Regions from separate parts of the Homo sapiens genome. Here region 1 is linked to region 2. The links are contacts of gene promoters, found by promoter capture Hi-C in human tissues and cell types (Jung and others, 2019). All regions are on one chromosome and are shown on one strand. The core of a region is centred on a gene start or on the middle of the fragment in contact, and the rest is flanking DNA. Distances in the headings are between cores, read along the strand shown.

Region 1 (3,374 bases), core at 40-2,539, 53 kb before region 2:
TTTGAGGTACAGATCTTCTTCTCAGTGAGGCAGACATTATCTGCAGGACCAGTTTTGTCACTGAGGTTGCACCCTCAGATCCAGCCGCCCAGTTATATTCTGTGTTTCTCCTAGTGTGAATTTCTTATGCTTTGTTGCATCTCTGCTTTTTAATAAAATTTCTGTACATAAGAATTCATTGGTATCATTCTCTATTGCTTTCATAATTATTTTACTGATTCCCTGACAATTATATTTTACACAAAGACGCAGGAAAAGCAACCCGTGTTGAAATCACTTTGAAAATACATGCTATATCGAATATAGATAATTTACGGTATTGGAATAGAAGTGCTGTGTGTATATGTGTGTGTATGTGTGTGTGTGTGTGTGCACATGTGTCTTAATATCCTAAATTAAGACAGTTTTAATTCATACCTTAGCTCTTGAAACACATTTTATCTTTAACACATTATATCTCATAATACTATCGTCCCTGTTTTGACAAAAAAGATAAAACCAAATTTCTGAAAATTAGACACCAATGAAAGAAGGGAAATCTTCTATAAAGAATTTCATGTACTGAATTCATTTTACTCAATAACAACATTTTGGAATTTATAATCAAAAAGTGGGCTTTATTTCCCAGTGAGTTCTGCTGAGACAAAAAAGCATATTGAGCTGTAGTTCATCTGGATAGCATGGTATATTGCTGACTGTGGTCTCTACGGGTTTACATTATAATTTAAACAACTCCACACTTAACATTTTAATATATATAAACCCAGAAAGGATGAAAATTTCAAGGCTCGCTTTTCTTTTTAAGAATTATTTTATTGGAATTAGTTCAGTCTTGAGTAGGTCGCAGCTGGGGTGCATATCCTAATTAGAATTTCCAAGAGAGGTGCCTTCATTTGAATCTGAAAGAATATGGTAAGTGACTATAACTTGGCATTCTAGTAGGAGCACCTGCTCTTGATGTTTTTACTTTTATTTGACTATTATCAGCTCTGAAATGGCCTTAAGCTATTGAGCCAATCAAGTTTAAGATGATTTGTTCAGATATGTTCAAATATGAAAAATAAGCTTCATATTTTTTCAGATGCCTTAAGAAAAATGTTGTCCAGATCTCAGTCATAGAGTTATGATGCCTTCTTAAACATGAGGCAGGATAAATAAGGTTAGGAGGCTGTGAAAGTAAAATAAATATTGGGGCCCCCAAATCACTAAGCTAAAGGGAAAAGGCAAACTCGGAACTGCTTAGGACAAACTTGCCTCTCATTCTATTCAAAGTCACCCCTCTGCTCACTGAGATAAATGCACTGATTGCCTCCTTGGGAAAGGCTAATCAGAAACTCAAAAGAAGGCAACCATTTGTCTCTTATATACCTATGATCTGGAAGCCCCCTCCCAGCTTCGAGTTGTCCCGCCTTTGCTTCGAGTTGTCTTGCCTTTTCTGGACCAAATCCGTGTTCATCTTACATATGTTGATTGATATCTCATGTCTCCCTAAAATGTATAAAACAAAAGTGTTATCTGACCACCTTACACACATGTCATCAGGACTTCCTGAGGCTGTGTCACCGGAGCATCCTCAACCTTAGCAAAATAAACTTTCTCAATTAACTGAGACCTGTCTCAGATTTTCTGGGTTAACATTTTGGTAACTGTGAAAGGATTCTGAGTGGAGATGCCCTTGACCTTTGACGAATATCCTGTTGGTGCCTGGTAATAGCATGAGCTAACTTTATGGCTCAAATCAATAGGACAATTTGCTGAGGTCTGGGAGCACCCTCCCCAAAGAATCCCTGATCTCCCCAAATTTGGTGAAGAACTAAAGTTCATTTTGCTGTACAACTGCCCCACCTATTTTTGTTTTTGGAGTTTTACTTGCTTACTTGCCTTCCTTATAAGGAAGGCAAGATTTACTTTTACTTCCTTTACAAGGAAGGCAAGATTTCCTGCTTCCATGATGATGAAAGGCATGTAGAGTTTGAGCTCACTCCCAGCAGGGAAGACCAGTTTGAGTTTTTTTCCTGCTTCTAGGGTGGTAGAAAGCAGCCTTCAGCCTGAGACCCATCCCTAGGTAAGTAGCTGAACTGGGGCTTTGTCTGGGCTAAAGTTTAACAACCAGCTAGCTGCTCTTAATTTCTCCTTATCATTAGAGTGCTTGGTAATCCTATGGTTGGAGATTTTGTTGTTTGTTTTGGTCTTTCTCCCATCAGACTTGACCAACTCTACCTGACTTGGTCAAATCCAAGTGAGAATTCAAAATTACGGGTAACAAAACCTCTCTAATTTGGCTAAAATTCATTGCAGCTGCAAAAGAAGAAAACAAACAAAAAGAACCAAAAACCCATGCACTTGGTTTCTGTGTTTGCTTCCTGTCTTAAAACACGAATGTTCTTTCGTTTACTTTTCTTGCACCATATACCTCCTCCCCCTTTGCCATATGCAGTACCAAAAAGTCTAGAGAAGGCTTCTAATGACTTGAACCCCCTTAAAGAATTCAGAACAAAGGTTGCCACTCACCCCTTTTGGGGTGTTTTGTTTTCTTTGTGGAGTTTCAAGAGTCATGGGTAGATTCTTCTTAACTCTAAACCTCTATTTTCCTGTATTGCATGACCTGACCTCTTTGGCTTTGACCTTGTTGTGTATAGTGGTAGATGAGAGCTACAAAGTTAAGGGGTGGCTGAGCAAGGTTTACAAAAAGTGGTCTTGGCTGTTGTTTTGTTTTCCTTCTAGGAATTTGTCGTTTAAAGATCCTAATTCTAGTTCACAAATGCATTCTAAAGGATCTTCTCTGTTGCTTTTTCTCCCCAAATTAAGCTCAATTCAGCTTGTCTGTGTGCATTTGCATGAGGAACTGAACTGTTGTTTTCAGTGGTGACCCACTGTGGAGTCCTGCCCACAAATGGCACATATTGATCCACCACAGAAAACCTCTAGGCCTCAGCTCAGTTCCTCTTTTTAAGAAGAAAACTGGGAAACAAATAATCTAAGAATGAGGAGAAAGCAAAGAGAATGATTCCCTTTCAAGCACTCCATAGGTTTTATGGCACCTGTACTTGCCAGAGTTTAAGTAAAATGGAAGTAATATGGTCTTTGTGCATATTTACATTAAGAAAGAAAGGGCCCATGTAAATTAGTTCAACCATTGTGGAAGACAGTATGGTGATTCCTCAAGGATCTAGAATCAGAAATACCATTTGATCCAGCAATCCCATTACTTGTTATATACCCAAAGGAATACAAATCATTCTACTATAAAGACACAGGCACATGTATGTTTATTGCAGCACTATTTACAAGAGCAAAGACATGGAACTAACCCAAACGCCCATCAATTATAGACTTGATAAAGAAAATGTGGTACATATACACCATGGAATACG
Region 2 (3,668 bases), core at 161-2,660:
TGGTACAACATGCTCCCAACTGGAGGAGAAATAACTAAAGCATGTGTTCACCAACTCTCACTCATTTGTTGAATACTATTCCAAGAGGCTTTAACTCTACAGTCCAGAGCTTGCTCCTTGGCTAGAGAAACTCTTCAAGAAGAGAGTTCCAGGTGCTTGCTCTAAGAAACCACCATTGTATATTAGAATAAAGTGTGCTGAGGAAATAGAGGTGGTGCCCCTGAAATTACATTCTGCAGAGAAGAACAACAGAAAAATTGACTGGTAATTGACCACACTCAAAAAAGAAAAATAATGAGACACAGTATCTGTATATTTCTATGCCTGAAAATTTATTTAAGATTTATTTAGATAAATATTTGTTTAAAATGGAATAGCTCCATATGAGAAATTATGGCAGAGAGCAAATATTTCAATTAAGATAGTTGACAGATTTCAGAGCAAATTACAACTTATGTTCATTTGGTAGAGAGGTAAAATGTGGGGGGAGCATATATTTGGAGGCCAGATTCAATCTAAGAATTGGTTGGAACTGAAGTTTTCCAACTAGCTTCCCATAACTCAGCTCATAGATGAGCTACATCAAGAATGCTGGTTGATGAGAATCTGGTGAGTCCAGATGACAGCCTCAGCAGCAAGAAGCACTAGAGCAGGTTGGGCGGCAGCACATGGTCTGGCAGCAGTTGGGGCGGCAGCAACTGGAGATGCAGCAGGAGAGCCTGCAGCAGCTGAAGCCACAGCAGGAGGAGCTACTGCTGCTAGAGATACTGCAGGAAGGCTGGCAGCAGCTGGAAATGCAATAGCTGGGGTGGCAGCAGGTGGTCCTGTAGCAGGTGGTTTGCCAGCAGATGGGCTAGCAGCATAGAGACTGGCCACAATGGGGCCTGTAGCACCTGGACACACAGCAGCTGGGGCGGCAGCAGGTGGTTCTGCAGCAGGTGGTCTGGCAGCACTGGGGTCTGCAGCAGCTGGACACACAGTAGCTGGGGCAGCAGCAGGTGGGCTGGCAGCACACAGACTGGCAGCACTGGGGCCTGCAGCAGCTGGGGCGGCAGCAGGTGGTCCTACAGCAGGTAGTCTGGCAGCATTGGGGTCTGCAGCAGGTGGGCTGGCAGCACACAGACTGGCAGCACTGGGGTCTGCAGCAGCTGGACACACAGCAGCTGGGGTGGCAGCAGGTGGTCCTGCAGCAGGTGGTCTGGCAGCACTGGGGTCTGCAGCAGCTGGACACACAGCAGCTGGGGCGGCAGCAGGTGGTCCTGCAGCAGGTGGTCTGGCAGTAGCTGGGACGGCAGCAGTTCTCTAGGCCACAGCCCTGGTCAGAGCACACAGAGCCACAACAGGAGTTGACCATGGTGTCAGAGGGTGGAGGTTCTGGGTGGGTTTCCAGGAAGGAGGGTTTGGAAGGCTTGGAAGTCTCCTTGCCCCAGATCCTCTTTTATACCCTGCTCAGGGCTGATGTCATCGGATGCAGCACTCTTTCCTTGTCATTGTTTGTTCTGATGAGCAGGCAATTATCAAATTAGGCAAGTTTGTTTTTCTGCTTAAATTTGTCAACATGGAGAAAAGCATTATTTCCTTCCCCTGGTGTGTTAGGATTCTTCAGGTCAGCTCTTCTTGAACAACCTCTTGTGTGCCTCTTGCTGCAGCTTCCTCCTTGAGCTGCCATGTGACATCTGCCTGCAGGTACCATGTGCTGCAGCCTCATTTTCCTTAATACATTATGTCTGACCTTGGGTGATTTTAATTCTTCTAGGCCCGTAATTTTCTTTTGGTGACTCAGGAGGAGAAAGCTGTGCTTTAATCTCATGGCATGTTTGTTATAGATCAAGTGAGCAATGAAGGTTTGAATGTGAAACAGGTGACCAGTGGCATGAAAACAAATACTATTAGGATATATTCCTTGCCACCTTCCATACAATGAATCATGACCCATTTTCTAGATGTTCTACTGGGGAAAGCAGAATTGTTTTAAGGTGGACATCTAAGTCATGAATTATCGATGCTTCTTTTTCTTGAGAAACAACACTCCAAAACTCAGTTTCAGGGCCTTTAGGGGAAATTGGCTACAGAGATCAGCTATACTAAAAGGTTCAGGTCCCTCCGCTCTCTGCTCTGAGGGGCTGATTTTCCTTCTGACTTTTCCTTCCTGTCTCTCTGGCTTTAACAATCACATTGAGTCATCTCCTCTATTTCTAAGGTTTACTTGCCAACCTAAGGTAAAGGACCCAGTGTCCTTGCTATATATATATAATATATATATATATATATAATATATATTATATATATACATATATATACTATATATAGTATACACACACACGTATATACACACTATATATAAATATACACACTATATATAAATATGCACACTATATATAAATATACACACATACACACACATATATGTGTGTGTATGTATGTGTGTGTATGTGTGCGTGTGTGTGTGTATATATATATATATATATATATATACACACACACACGCACACATACACACACATTATGTCTGACCTTGGGTGATTTTAATTCTTCTAGGCCCATAATTTTCTTTTGATGTATATGTATATATATATATACACTCACACACACACAGGTTTGGGGGAATATATATATTCTGCCAAAGGACCTTAGGAATATATATATATATTATACATATATAGATGGGTAGATAGAGAACCTTATATATAGGTAATATAGGAATATATATATTTACATATTTATGAATATATAATATATATTCTTCATATATGTTTGTATTTAATAGTATGTATAAATATATATATAATATATACAATAACATATTTAGAAATATATATATTTATATATATATGTATTTACCTTTATCTCCTAAGGCCCTTTACCTTAGGAATATTATGCACACACACACACACACACACTCAAACACACACACACACACACTCCCCCAAACCTGGATGTTAAAGAAACCCAAGGAAGAAGGCAGAAACTTCCTGTCTTTGTGCCACCCTCCACTTTGGGATGCTCTTGGGTTAGCAATTTCTGTTTGGACTGGTCTCTCTGAGGATACTATGGACACCCCAACTCTGCTGAGGGTCTTTCCATAAAACATGCTCATCTAAATATTTGGGGGCCATGAAGGTAAGAAAAAGTGAATATGCCAAATGGCAGAACCATGTTTCCAAAACTACAGAAATACTCTCACAAGGAATCAAACCTAACAAGATGAAATATCAGAACCAATTGTAGATCAAATGAGTGGTTATTAATGCAGCATGGCAAACGAGATTGGGGAGGAGTGAATATATCTAAATTTACTGGGAGTATTTATTTAACTATACACACACCCTAAGGTTGTGTCCCCTCTTAGCATCCCTTCACCAGATAGAATATTACAAGTTGAGGACATCTTATCTGAAAATCTGAAATCTGAAATTCTCCAAAACCCAAACCTTTTTGAGTACCTATATGATGCTCAAAGAAAATGCCCAATAGAACATTTAGGATTTCATGTTTTTGCATTAGGGATGCTCAACAAGTATAATGCGAATATTCCAACTCTGAAAAAACTTGACATTTGAAACACTTCTGGTGCCAAGCATTTCAGATATGGGGTACTCAACCTGGATCACCACAATGAGCTCTATTACTGCAGGCATGCAGTAGAAAGGCAGGTTGAGAACTTCTCG

What was found. Contacts are between HindIII fragments. The study calls those that stand out against the background at their distance.
Region 1: a contact is called between a fragment that was not itself captured here and the fragment with the promoter of KRTAP4-4 in region 2, in 1 of the 25 tissues and cell types used here (small bowel).

Annotation. Positions count from the first base shown.
Region 1 is chr17:41,106,315-41,109,688 of GRCh38, forward strand. It overlaps KRTAP4-9 (keratin associated protein 4-9), which reads left to right. Exons shown (of 1, transcript NM_001146041.1): 1 at 1-174. It overlaps LOC124904002 (a long non-coding RNA gene), which reads left to right and starts at 1,918. Exons shown (of 2, transcript XR_007065754.1): 1 at 1,918-2,065. The HindIII fragment of the contact is 3,699 bases long and covers 1-3,139 here.
Region 2 is chr17:41,159,338-41,163,005 of GRCh38, forward strand. KRTAP4-4 (keratin associated protein 4-4) reads right to left here and starts at 1,411. Exons shown (of 1, transcript NM_032524.2): 1 at 312-1,411. The coding sequence starts at 1,354. The coding sequence ends at 854. The HindIII fragment of the contact is 15,846 bases long and covers 1-3,668 here.